Linked DNA regions of Homo sapiens: all the other regions are linked to region 3. Evidence: promoter capture Hi-C in 16 types of primary human blood cells and fetal thymus (Javierre and others, 2016). All regions are on one chromosome and are shown on one strand. Each heading gives the region's core, a stretch centred on a gene start or on the middle of the fragment in contact. The rest is flanking DNA. Distances are from core to core; before and after follow the strand shown. Region 1 has its middle 31 kb from the start of KLHL31. Region 2 has its middle 10 kb from the start of KLHL31. Region 3 holds the start of GCM1 (glial cells missing transcription factor 1). Region 4 has its middle 50 kb from the start of KLHL31. Region 5 overlaps LOC124901334 (a long non-coding RNA gene).

What was found. Contacts are between HindIII fragments. The CHiCAGO score rates a contact against its expected background, and 5 or more counts as called.
Region 1: a fragment that was not itself captured here is called in contact with the fragment with the promoter of GCM1 in region 3 in 3 of 17 cell types (total B cells, M0 macrophages and M1 macrophages); the score reaches 9.1 in total B cells.
Region 2: a fragment that was not itself captured here is called in contact with the fragment with the promoter of GCM1 in region 3 in 4 of 17 cell types (M2 macrophages, activated CD4 T cells, M1 macrophages and 1 more); the score reaches 6.0 in M2 macrophages.
Region 4: a contact is called between a fragment that was not itself captured here and the fragment with the promoter of GCM1 in region 3, in 2 of 17 cell types (M0 macrophages and M2 macrophages). The highest score is 6.4, in M0 macrophages.
Region 5: a contact is called between a fragment that was not itself captured here and the fragment with the promoter of GCM1 in region 3, in 3 of 17 cell types (M0 macrophages, naive B cells and activated CD4 T cells). The highest score is 10.7, in M0 macrophages.

What each region holds. Positions count from the first base shown.
Region 1 is chr6:53,695,586-53,698,285 of GRCh38, reverse strand. No RefSeq gene overlaps it. Among named protein-coding and RNA genes, the nearest start is that of KLHL31, 31 kb to the right of the region's middle. The HindIII fragment of the contact is 2,119 bases long and covers 271-2,389 here.
Region 2 is chr6:53,674,576-53,677,275 of GRCh38, reverse strand. No RefSeq gene overlaps it. Among named protein-coding and RNA genes, the nearest start is that of KLHL31, 10 kb to the right of the region's middle. The HindIII fragment of the contact is 3,890 bases long and covers 1-2,700 here.
Region 3 is chr6:53,147,502-53,150,201 of GRCh38, reverse strand. GCM1 (glial cells missing transcription factor 1) reads left to right here and starts at 1,361. Exons shown (of 6, transcript NM_003643.4): 1 at 1,361-1,448. It also overlaps the pseudogene LOC124901513. The HindIII fragment of the contact is 12,096 bases long and covers 1-2,700 here.
Region 4 is chr6:53,714,560-53,717,259 of GRCh38, reverse strand. No RefSeq gene overlaps it. Among named protein-coding and RNA genes, the nearest start is that of KLHL31, 50 kb to the right of the region's middle. The HindIII fragment of the contact is 4,083 bases long and covers 1-2,700 here.
Region 5 is chr6:53,733,219-53,735,918 of GRCh38, reverse strand. All of the region lies in intron 1 of LOC124901334 (a long non-coding RNA gene), which reads right to left. Among named protein-coding and RNA genes, the nearest start is that of LRRC1, 60 kb to the left of the region's middle. RefSeq lists an enhancer at 517-1,716. The HindIII fragment of the contact is 5,249 bases long and covers 1-2,700 here.

The DNA.
Region 1 (2,700 bases), core at 81-2,580, 550 kb before region 3:
AAATTGTCCTCCAGAAAGGTGTGCCTCAGCTTTCTATAGGAGCACTGGTTTCTGATACTCTCACCCTGGCTGGTATTGTCCAAATGCTTTTAATTTTACCAGTGGGAAGTGTGCTTAAATTCTGCTTGATGGTGGAAGGATAAAATTCATGCTGAGGGGTAAAATTCATGCTAATAATGTAGGATTTCATTTTTCTTTACTGAGAAAGGTATAAAATAACATAAAAACACCATGACAAGAAGAGAGAGATCATGGAAGAAAGGATAAGCTTTATCTGAACCTTTCATGGCACTTTTTCCTTTGAACAATGGGCCCTGCATTCTCATTTTGCTCTGGGCCCCACAGATTATGAAGATGGTCCTGTCTCTGCCTCTTCCTCTCCATCCTCACTGCTACTTCCACAGTTCAGGCTGAAATCTACCTCCAGGACAGGCTCAATAGCCTCCTTACCATCTCTCTGCCTCCCATCTTAGCACCCTTCCACCACAACACAGTCTCCAGTTTGCAAAAGGAATCTTTAAAAATGCAAAGTCTCCTAATGTCTTCTCTGCCGTGTGTAAACTACATAATACCATTTTAGTGACCTGCCCTCCAGCCTAGAAAGTCCTTGTAAGATCTAGCTTCTGCCCTGCTCCAGCCCTATTATTTTCCAGTGACTCCTGTGCCCACCCACAGAAGATTTTTCTCACTGCCTGTGCGTTCCACGCTCTCCTGAAGCTGGGTCCCAGCACTGCTCCTTTCTCTGCCTTAAGTGCTCACTCCATGGCACTGGCTCCACATTAGGAGCTCACCCTTCACGTCTCAGCTCAGGTGATCTTACCTGAATTGTCTTCTCAGATGGGCAGCATGCAACGTGCAATTTAAACTGTGCAAATGCCAGTTTTAAATACAATTATGAGCATTCGACTCGTGTGTAGAATCACCAAAATCACACAATTCGTATTTTGTGTCTTATCCTGGTGGGTGCCTGGAGCTGGCCAGAGAGACAACTGTAGGTCAGATTCAGGAAGGCTGGAAGAAAGAGAAGAGGGTCCCAAGGCACAGAGCTGGCTGAGAGAGCACTCCTGGGCACCACAACACTAGTGGGGCCAGTGCAGATTCCCGCAGCTGCCCAGGGGCCTCATCCCACAATGTGTAGCATGAGTGCGTTTGCTCTGTCAGTTGGCTTCTGGGCTCCCCCTCCCACCAGCCACTGAGTCAATGTGTTACCTCCATCAGGGGTGGGATCTGGAGAAGTCAAACCAGGTGGCTCCCTTCCCACTAGCCTAGAGCCTCAAACCCTGGCAGACAGGTAACTCCCAAGGATCTTCAACCTCTGTGTCAGTATGGGCTGGGTACTGGATGGGGTAGGAGGGGAGCGTGTTCCCACCAAGAGACAACTTCCAGCAGCCCCCCATGGACCTGCTAGCCTAGATCTGCTAGTCTGGGACAGGGACAGCAGCCACAGCTTGTGCCTGACCCATCTGGCCCTGAGCAGGAGGGTGAAGGCTGGGCAGGCAGGGCACTAGGAGGCACAGGAGGGAACAGCCCCAAACTCATCCACTGAAGACAGCGGGAGGTGGGATCATGCATGAATTTAGGCTCTTAGCCCCTGGCACATGCTCCATTGCCCCATTGAACTTGACTTACAAAGCAGAAATGTGAAGTAAACATTATTAAGAATTTCAAGATAACTGCAGAGCATTAAACCCCAAGTATGTAACCTTGCTGAGAGAGAGGCCCTGTCCAAGTGCACAGGTTGGATGCCCATGAAGCTGGCCCTGGACAGAGATAAGAGGTACTTAGGAGGTAAGAATGATAAGATGTCAGGCTTCATTGTGTATTATGTATTTAGTGGGAGGCACGAGGTCTGTGAAGAGAGAGGATCCTATGACAACCAGTAGTTTTCTGTCTTGGGTGACAGACGGATGCTGGTGCCATTACCCAGACAGGGAATGCAGGGAGGAAGAAGAGAGTTTCTGTGTTTGGCTCCTTCGGTTCAGTTTCTCTACTTGTCTGTTGTCTGAGTACACTTCCATATTCAATGGACAGTTGACTTTCAAAGAAAAGCAAAAGATTTCTGAATAATATGCAAGAGTTGAGCATGTAAAAAATTCCATGGAAATCTCTTGACCCAGACTGATAACTGAGTAATAGAAAAATTAAATTAAGCTATTCTTTAACTTACCACTAAAATTAAATTTTAGAGAATTTCCCAATGCTTTTATAAGGAAAGGAAAACATCTTGCCTTGTGTACCTCTCCTATTCCCTCAACATACTCAATAGAGACTTATTCAGGTTCAATGTCTGGGTCATAGTAATAAATTGGCTGAAAATAAAATTTCTGCTAAAATATTAAGCATGGAGATATTAATTCACAATGACTTAAGGCAAAAGTTTTCTGAAGCTTTCTGTGTTTTAAAAGTAAGCATATAAAACATGAAAGTAAACATATCATTCATTCATTCATTTATTCACTTAACAAATATTTGTACTGAGAACGTACTGTGTGCTAAGCTGGAGGTACAGAGCAAAACACATAGAGCACAGGCTGTTCTGGTACAAGAGCATTCTCGTGGTGGGAGATCTCAAAAAAAAAAAAACTGAATATATAAAAGTGGTTATTTACACCTATATTTTCCTGAAATACAGCTCTGGATTCCAGAATGGCTCTGGAATCAGCCATTTCTCCAAGGAACCGTGATTCCTTTTAGTAGAAT
Region 2 (2,700 bases), core at 187-2,686, 530 kb before region 3:
GGATGGTGAGGATGGTTGCACAGTGGGTATGTACTTAATGCCATTGAACTGTATACTAAAAATGGTTAAAATGATAAATTTGTGATATGGATATTTTACCACTATAAAATTATAAGTATAATACATTCATAACCATTAAAAAACACAATGGTCATAAAGAAACATTGGCAGGAAATAAATGCAAATGTTGATAATTCCTGTGATATGGAGGTAGAATTTCATCAAATATATTTTTTAGCTTCCAAACTTTCTCCACCATGGTTGTATTGTATTCCTAACCTGATAGCAGCAATTATTAGTAACTACAGTAATAATTATTAAGAATTATGGTATTAATAATTCCATTTTTCTTGACATGGCCTCAAAACATACATACATACATACATACATACATATAGGCTAACACTAAACTTTTTTTTATTTTTTTTTCGTATACTTTAAGTTCTGTGCAGAACGTGCAGTTTTGTTACATAGGTATACACATGCCGTGGTGGTTTGCTGCACCCATCAACCCGTCACCTACATTGGGCATTTCTCCTAATACTGTCCCTCCACTAGCCCCTCAACCCGACAGGCCCCGGTGTGTGATGTTCCTCTCCCTGTGTCCATGTGTTTTCATTGTTCAACTCCTACTTATGAGTGAGAACATGCAGTGTTAGGTTTTCTGTTCTTGTGAGAGTTTGCTGAGAATGATGGCTTCCAGCTTCATCCATGTCCCTGCAAAGGACATGAACTCATCCTTTTTTATGACTTCACAGTATTCCATGGTGTATATGTGCCACATTTTCTTTATCCAGTCTATCACTGATGGACATTTGGGCTCCAAGTTTTTACTATTGTGAATAGTGCCACAATAAACATACATGTGCATGTGTCTTTATATTAGAATGATTTATAATCCTTTGGGTATATACCCAGTAATGGGATTGCTAGGTCAAATGGTATTTCTAGTTCTAGATCCTTGAGGAATTGCCACACTGTCTTCCACAATGGTTGAACTAATTTACGCTCCCACCAACAGTGTAAAAGCATTCCTATTTTTCTACATCTTCTCCTGCATCTGTTGTTTCCTGACTTTTTAATGATTGCCATTCTAACTGGCATGAGATGGTATCTCATTGTGGTTTTGATTTGCATTTCTCTAATGACCAGTGATGATGAGCTTTTTTTCATATGTTTGTTGGTTGCATAAATGTCTTCTTTTGAGAAGTGTCTGTTCATATCCTTTGCCCAGTTTTTGACGGAGTTGTTTGTTGTTTTCTAGTAAATTTTTTAAGTTCTTTGTGGATTCTGGATATTAGCCCTTTGTCAGATGGATAGATTGTAAAAATTTTCTCCCATTCTGTAGGTTGCCTGTTCACTATGATGATAGTTTCTTTTGCTGTGCAGGTCTTTAGTTTAATTAGATCCCATTTGTCAATTTTGGCTTTTGTTGCCATTGCTTTTGGGATTAACACTAAACTTTGAATACAAAAGAATACATCATTAACTAGACTGCTGATTTTTAATAATGATAATTTAATGATGATATTGTAAAATTTTGTTTTGTTCTATTCAATCGCTCATTAATTGGGACTTAATTTTCAAGGAGCTGGAAATTAGACCAAAATCATCATATGGCTTGTTTTTATAAAGGATACGCTGATAACATACTATACTTTATGTAAAATGTGAACATTGAGGGAAGTAATGTGAAAGGCTCTTTATGAAAATAAGGCTAAACCCCAATAATTACTCCCTTAATCTCTTTATGGTCTCCCATTTTTTATGATTACTATGTATTTTTATTATCATTGATTCTATCTTAACATTGGTATTCTTCTTTTAAGGATACCAATGCTTTCTTCCTCCACAATTTTGGATTTAACCAAGTGTATTTATCCCTGGATATTTCCCTAAATTTAGTGATCAGTGCATTATACTCTATGAAACACTCCACTGAATCCTGCTAGGAGACAGTATTCTGGAATTCCAACCCCATTTCATAACAGCCACAATTCCTGTATTCTTGGGCAAATTGCTTTACTTTGCTTATGACTGACTTTGATGAATAATTAAGACAAAACTAAGAATTCCTATATGCATTTTCCAAGATTATTCTGTAGAATACTTGGGCCACATGACAGTCCCATAAAATTAAGTTTTAGGATCAAATATATGTGAAAAAAGACTGAGAATTTATCCTTGGCTTAGAGATCAACAATGCAGAATAGCACCTAAAGGCTCTGGGAAGTCTTTCACTAAAAAAGTAGTAATTTATCTGTTCTGATAAATATAAATATATATACACACATATATACATACATATATATATATATATATATCTGACTGCTGGATTCTTTAAAAAATTTATTATCAATTTTAACATAGCTTAGAACAAAGCGTTCTAAGAACATACTTTAGGAGACACTGATTTTACATAAATACAAGTTATTAATTCTAGAAAGAAAAAAAAGGCAAGAAGATCTTCTTGGTGGAGCAGAGAACTCCCTGTCATTGCAAAACCAGAAGTGGTTAGGTGGCTGCTTGCTGAGGATATTCTAGTCCAGTCTCCTACCCAAGGAAGTCACTTTTATAAAGGTGCTTCTAATTTCAAAATGGTATGACAATTAGAAAATGTGCCCTGATGGGAAGCCCTTCATGGCAAACTCAGTTGCCTTCATGACCAGGCAAGAAGAAGTAAAATCACTCAGGGCCTTG
Region 3 (2,700 bases), core at 112-2,611:
TATGAGGCTTTCCAAGCCTTTTGCCTTCTCGCCTTCTCATCTCTGCCTCCTAAGCCTCATCCTTGAAAGTCTGGACCTTCCTGACAGGTACTGATCCCTCGTCATGTTGTCCAGGATATTGTCACTCCCCGAAACACCCTCTTCCAGTCCTTCACGCCTTGATAAATATCTATTTGTCCTTCAAAAGGCTCATCGAGCATTATTTTGGTGGGTTTCCTTTGGTTCTCCTCCCTCCAGCTTAATAGCCTTCTCATTTATATTACTTTTATTCTATACATCAAATTAAATCGGCCTTATTTAGTAGCTTTAATCATCTTTTCTACTAGAATGAACTTCTTAATGGCTTTCATTCTCTCTTGTGTTGCCAAGGCCTGGCAGACTACCTAGAACAAAACATATGAACTGAACTGATTTAGGCTGTACTGCGGATGTCTCTAAAAGGAAGAATAGCACTGAGGGTATCTCTAGAAGAAATAATTGGTTTTTGTTTGTTCGTTTTTTTTTGTTGTTTTGTTTTGTTTTGTTTTTGTTTTTTTGAGATGGAGCCTCGCTCTGTCACCCAGGCTTGACTGCAGTGACGCAATCTCAGCTCACGCAACCTCCGCTTCCCGGGTTCAAGCAATTCTCTGCCTCAGTCTCCCAAATAGCTGGGATTACAGGCGCTCGCCACCACACCTGGCTAATTTTTGTATTTCTAGTAGAGACGGGGTTTCACCATCTTGGCCAGGCTGGTTTTGAACTCCCAACCTTGTGATCCGCCCACATCGGCCTCCCAAAGTGCTAGGATTACAGGTGTGAGCCACCACGCCCGGCCAAGAATTGTATATTTTTAGGGGATCAGAACACTTAGAATTAGTGGGACATTATTGCTAGGGTTAAGATAGCATTTCAGTATTTCTGGTATAGAGGATGTTGGCTATCCACTGTCTATTCCAGTAAATTTCCTCACCATAATATCTCTCTATCTCTGTCTGTCTGTCTTCTCTCTCTTGCACACATGAGAGAGAACTATTACCTGCCGGGTAAATAGTGGGAGAATTAGGACCTACTGTGAATCGTCTGCCTGGGGCCCAACCTGTAACATCACAAGAAGAAAAACATCTGTACTTCCTTATGAGGTTCTTTTCAATGTCCATTTTAGTTCAAATGTCCTCATAACATAAAGGGAGGGGGAAGTTCAGAGACACATCATAGAATATTCATCACATTGCTGGCATTCTGGGAAGAATCAGGCTGGTTAAGTGACTCCCAGGCTGCTCTTACCTATCCAGAGCCTAGAGCATCTAGATTTTGATTGGACCATTGCCAGAACTCATTAGCATAGTGTACCCTGACCTGGAATAGGGAACAGCGTCTGCTCAGAAAATGACCAGAGCCTGCTGGGACTTGAACCAGCAGTAAGATTTTCACGACACAGTGCTGTCTGCTTCTCCGTAAGAAGTTAGAAGGTAAGAAAGCCAGAAATCCCGTGGAGAGGCAAATGTAAGGGATGTGGCAACGACCACTCTATTCCTACAGGGTTTCATTTGTTCTAGTTCATTTTTCTGTAGAAATGATGAAAATTGAATATACTTTGCGCAAGTTGCTTTAAAAAAAGGAGTCTTGACAAGTGTAGTTTTTCAATCCTAGAAGAGGAAAACAGAGTTTACTTAAGGGCTGTAAAATGGTTTTTTCTTCTTTTCTATGTTTTGTTCTTAACTTTTAGGGAAATATTAAATTAATGCTCATTCGCTTAGCAAATGTTAATATCGAGAGAAAAATCTAAAATGTAACATAGTTGTTCTGTAATAAAATTTTCTTTATTATTCTTCCCTTAATTTAAAAACAAAATAATTATGTCTATATTGCCTAGGCTTTATAACAATGTTTTTGATTTTTGAAAATATGAATCTTATTTGCCAAGGTTTTTAAAAAGTAGATCTATTCCAATTAGTTATAACAAAATTTGCACCATCAGAGACAATATCGTTACTGTTCAGGGTAAGTACACGGAACTGCTGCTTGGTATCTGCATCTTCTATACCTGTTATTTAAGTCCTTTGAATTAGAGTCAATTTGCGGCATCATTTCTTCAGTAACACAATGTTTCTTTCCTAAACATAGAATTTTACTTAAAATCCATGAGGATTTAGTCTTGAAAATCAACATTCAGTTGGGGAACAGAAACTTCGTGCTCTGCAACCACTAGGTTGTAGCTCAGTATGGGTATGTGGAACAGACAGGAAGAGACTCTGATTAGCTTGTCATTTAATGGTCAAGAACTTTATTTATAAAGACTATACTTTCAGGGATCATTTCTATAGTTTGTTACTAGAGAAATTTCTCTGGACATCTAGAGCACACACAAAAAAGAAAAAAGGAACTTCATTCTTATGTTCAGGTCAACGGTCTTTTATATACATACACTTTCCCTTGGTAGAGTTCAGTGATTGACAAGTATTAGGATTATATAACACTAAATAACTAAAGAACAGGCCGGGCACAGTGGCTCATGCCTGTAATCCCAGCACTTTGGGAGACAGAGACGTATGGATCACCTGAGGAAAGGAGTTCAAGACCGGCCTGGTCAACATGGTGAAACCCCATCTCTACTGAAAATACAAAAATTAGCTGGGTGTGGTGGTGCGTGCCTGTAATCCCAGCTACTTGGGAGGCTGAGGTAAAAGAATCACTGGAGCCCCAGAGGTGGAGGCTATGGTG
Region 4 (2,700 bases), core at 143-2,642, 570 kb before region 3:
TTGAAGTGTTGGGCACCCAGTTGAAGTCATAGAATCAGTGTCAGAGCATACACACCATTATCACAATCCAATATGAGGAACCTTTGTGGAGTGATGGAAATCTGAAATCTTTCAGTTCTTTACTTACCTGATCTCTTTGCAGCACTGGACATGGTCAACCAGTCTTCATTCCTAAAACCCTCCTCTACTGGTTCCTGAAAACTAAACTTTTCACCTTCCTCCTACCTCTGACCACCTCTTCCCAGGCTCCTTTGCAGGCTCTCCTTTATCTTTTTGTGCCTAAAATAGTTCTCCAGGTGTCTTTTCCCAGGTCCAATCTCCTGTGCATTGATGACTTCTAAATTTGTATCCCCAATCCCCCAAGTCCTTCTCATAGGCTGATGACCAACAGTCCAACGCATTTTTGGACATTTCCTCACAGATGCATTGAACTCACTAAAACGAAACTCTCCATCTTTTCGCTTTGCTTCTGTGCTCTCTGTTCCAAACCTGCTTTGGGTCATGTATTCCGGTCAATATGAACTACAACCATGCCCAAGTAGACACCCTATTCGAGTTGCTCTCTGTGATTTGCCCTTCGTTGAAGTCATCCTAATTAGTGCAGCCAATGTTCTGCCAAACAAGAGGAATTGCTTCTTGTAGAAAATGTAAAAATAAAAGAGAAGATTTCAATGCAAATGAAGAAGATTTAGTCATGACTGAAGAGCACAGGCTAGGAAAGCGCTGTCTGGTGGACCAAGACATTACCTTGGACACTAAACCATGAAGCGGGGCCTGAAAGGACTCCCTTTTACAGAAGACCTACAGGCTTCTCCCAGAAGATGGAATTAAGGCAAGCACGAAAACTTGGAGGCTACCTATTTACCAACCTTTTTAAAAAAAGTTTTAAAAAAATTATAATTTCTGCAGGATTCCTATGTGACCACAGTGCTAAGTGCTTTATATATATTATTTCATTATTGCTCACAATAGGGCTAGGCATGGTGGCTCACTCCTGTAATCCCAGCACTTTGGGAGGCTAAGGTGGGTGGCTCACTTGAGGTCAGGAGTTTGAGACCAGCCTGGCCAGCATGGTGAAATCCTGTCTCTGCTAAAAATACAAAAAAAAAAAAAAAAAAAGGCCAGATGTGATAGTGCACACCTGTAATTCCAGCTACTTAGATGACTGATGCACAAGAATTGCTTAAACCCAGGAGGCAGAGGTTGCAGTAAGCTGAGATCTCACCACTGCACTCCAGCCTGGGTGACAGAGTGAGACTCAGTCTCAAAACAAAAAAACAAAGAAACAAACAAAAAATTGCTTACAACAACCCTGTAATCTAAGTGTTGTTTGCTCCACTGTTTAGATAAGGACATTTGGGGTTAGGAGGTTATTTGCCCAAGGACAACCTAACTTGTCAATTCTACAGCTTGAATTCAAGTCTACCTGTAAAACCTGTAGCCTGATCCGTGACAGTAGCCAAAGCCTTTTTTTTTTGGTCACAAAGGTAGTCCAAAAAGTTATCTGATGATGCTACATCCCTCTGAGTTTTTTAGGCTGGGCTAAAAGCATCATTCTAACTGCCCTATAGTTTTTATTCTGTTTTATTGTAAAGCAATGATTCATACAGTTAGAACTACCCAGGGTTAAATTCCTTTTTGTATATATTAAGCACAAATAGCAAAGTGCTGGATAGCATAATTACTTTTGTACAAAAATATGTACTTTATAAATAGATAGTATTTTAGGATATTTGCTTTTTTATAATGGAATGTTGGGGATAAGAAGGGAATGAGGTTGCAGCTAATCCTATTGGTTTTGTACAGTTCTGTAAAGATTAAATTTATAAGTGGGTTAAGTGGATGGGGGGATCGTGGTCCATGTTTTGGCTTGTTTTTATACCTCTTTGGATTAAAAAAATCAATATTTATTACTTTAAAAACTACCTTTTAGAAGTCACTCTCAAACTATTTTTCTACAAAGAGCCTTTTCAATAAACATCTTAGGAAAGTGCAGAGGTTGAAGAGCATTTCATGAGGAAGTCTTCTTTCTGGCTTCTGATAAGGCATGTCATTTAAATGAACAATTCTGCAGGTCACCCTCCACCTGAAAAATTACTGAATGCTCCCAGAGTCCCATAAACAAAGATCTTCTTTGTCCTTGAGCCAAACCCATATGTGGTTAAAGACAAAGTCAGCTTGCTTTGAAGTTCAGAGAAAGAGTTGACTACAGTACTTCACCACTGAGAAACAATATGACCCTAGCTCACTCTTATGGACGGGGTGCCTTTCACCCTTTGCACCTGTCAAGGAAGACAGACTTTTTTATCTATTTTCTTAAAAGTGGCCATGCAGCTTTATAAAGGTGTTTGTGGAAGTACTTCAACTGAATTTATATTGGAATTTAGAAGATGTGAAGATAAAATACTTCACATAAGAAAAATACTATGTTTTCTTATTACTTATTAAGTAACGAGACATTTCACTGAAATACATAAGAAAAGTACGTTTTACTTGTATGTGGTCCTATTGCATATGTTGAATACCTTTTAATAGCTATTCTGAATATTAAGTTTCAAACCTTATCAGTCAAAGGATATAATTTATAAGAGTCCCCTTAAGTAGGACGTGGAGGTCAGATGTTGGGCAGGAAAGCAAACAAACACAGAAACTAACAAATTTTCACTATGCTTTCCAGGAAAGGGACATTTTATCAGAGTC
Region 5 (2,700 bases), core at 86-2,585, 590 kb before region 3:
TAGGGTTCAGCTCAACTGTTACTTCTTCATGGAGGCTGATGCCTCCCAGTCTTCATCTTAAAAGTGTGCAGCTTTTATCACCGTCTATAACTATGTTACTTAATCATCTGTTTATTATTCACCGTGTGCTACAGAAGATGATCTTGATGAGAAGAAACTGCATGTTACCCAACAGTTTCTGGGTCATAGGCATGCATCAGGTAACTGATGAATGAATGAATGAATGAATGAATGAATGAATACATTAATCTCCAAGATTCCTTCAGTTTACGATATTCTGCTTGACTATCTAGTCCCTCAAAAGGCATTACCTTTCCCCTGTATTATCTCAAGCACCCTATTATAACTTTTTGAGTTAGTAGCATGTTCACCAAGGCTAATCCTCTTTAGCATGTTAGCCAGCTATGATGGCCACATTTTCACATAACAAGATGATTTCACCAAGTTAAAAACTTCTTTGGGATCTATTCGTAAAAGTATATATAAGAGTTTACATTTCTAACAATATAGAAAAATGTAGAGCCTCCATTATAAAACATCTAGAAATGTTGGAAAAAAATATACAAAACATACTTTTAAAAGCACTGACTTTATAAGATAGTACAAGAAATGTTCAGGAGCTAAAATTGAAACAGGTCACAAACCAGAGCAGTACAGAGACAGGAAGCCTGCGGTTGTCCTGGGAGGGAAGTGGGAGACAGGAAGGGGGCGCCATCGCACTAGCTCAGAGCCAATGCATGCGTGGAGATGGCAGATGAGGTCCTGGCTCCACACATATATAAGGCTGGGAGCTGGAACTGAAACACCAGTAGGGGACTCTTGAAGGACTCTATTTTCAGTAATAGAGAGGTCCTTAAATAAATCCACCCACTGACAGGGAGATGACAAGGTATTTTGTTTATTTCAGTCTGGGTTCTGAGTGAGGAAAAAGAAAGTCTGCCCTGAGTGTTCCTGATCAAGACCTGCCCCCACGTGGATTCAGGGCTTATCTTTTATAGCTCAAGAACTCTCAATCAAGCAATTCATGTAAAAATGAAGCCTGGTTTTCTACCCATGGGGCATTCGACGGAGGCAGTTGTAAAACTTTGCTGCAGAATCACACCTTCGATCCAGGCCTCACAGGATCCTCACAGTTAAAGGCTCAGTGTTGATAAATTCGCAATCTATATTTATGAAACACTCAAGCTACCAGGAGCAAGAGGCAGCAGATACCACAAACAGCATGACTGGATACCTAGGAATTTCCGGTGAGTCAGACATAGGCAATAAAACAGGTATCTTTAGAATGATTAAAGACGTAACACAATAAAAAAAAAAAGGAGAAAAATGCAACTGCAAAGTTGACGGAATAAACAAACACAGTGCTTAGAAAAGAAAAGTATATTCATTGAAGCTGAAAACTTAATTGACGCATTAGAAAGAGCAAAGGAAGCTGGAAGATAACATTAGCTGGAATAGCATTAGTTGGAATATGCAACTGGAGTAAGCATTAGCAAACTGGAAGATAGCTCTGAGCATGAATTCCAAAGAGATTGAGACAAAAAACATGAATAAAAAGGGAGAGATGTAGAGGATAAAATGAAAAGATGTCCAGTAAAAGTTCCAGAAGGAAAACATGGAAAAAATGAGGAAGAGGCAAAATTTGAAGATGCAATGACTAAATTGTCTAAAATTTTTGAAACATAAATTGTCTGATTCACAAAGTTTAAAAAGTCCTGATCAAGAAAAATAAAAATAAGTTCATTCCTAGTGTCAACAACAAAACAAAATGTAATGAAACAACAAAATGTCAAAGACAAAGATCTTCATAAGCAAAAAGTCAGTTAACCAAAATGAACAATAATTACATTGATATAAGCAACACTGTAAGTGTACTAATATCTTTGAGATGCATAGTTATCAAACTAAAGTTCTATGCCCAACTAAACCATCATTAAATAATAATAACAATTGAGAGTGCACCCCTAAAGGACCCTACTAGTAGATGCAATTCAGGAAGAACAAGGCTGACCTCAGAAGGAAGGAGTGAGATGCAGAAAGGTAGAGTAGGCAAGGAAATTAGTAAAATGTAAATAAATCTAAATAGATCTTGACTAAAGTTCTAGTCCAACTAAACCATCATTAAAATAATAATAATTGAGAGTACACCCCTAAAGGACCCTACTAGTGGATGCAATTCAGGAAAAACAAAGTTGAACTCAGAAGGAAGGAGTGAAACCGGGCGTGGTGGCTCACGCCTGTAATCCCAGCACTTTGGGAGGCCAAGGCAGGCAGATCACAAGGTCAGGAGTTTGAGACCAGACTGACAAATATGGTGAAACCCCATCTCTACTAAAGTAAATACAAAAATTAGCAGGGCGTGGTGGTGCGCGTCTGTAGTCCCAGCTACTCGGGAGGCTGAGGCAGAAGAATTGCTTGAACCCGGGAGGTGGAGGTTGCAGTGAGCCGAGATCGTGCCACTGCACTCCAGCTTGGGTGACAGAGTGAGACTCTTTCTCAAAAAAAAAAAAGGAAGGAGTGAGATGCAGAAAGGTATAGTAGGCAAGGATATTAGTAAAATGTAAATAAATCTAAATAGATCTTGATTATAAGCAGCAACATCATGATAGTGATTGATTTTGTGATTATACAATAGGATGGAATTAAAACAAAATGGAAGAGATTATTGGCTTAGAGTGTTCTAAAGTCTTTCTATTCTTT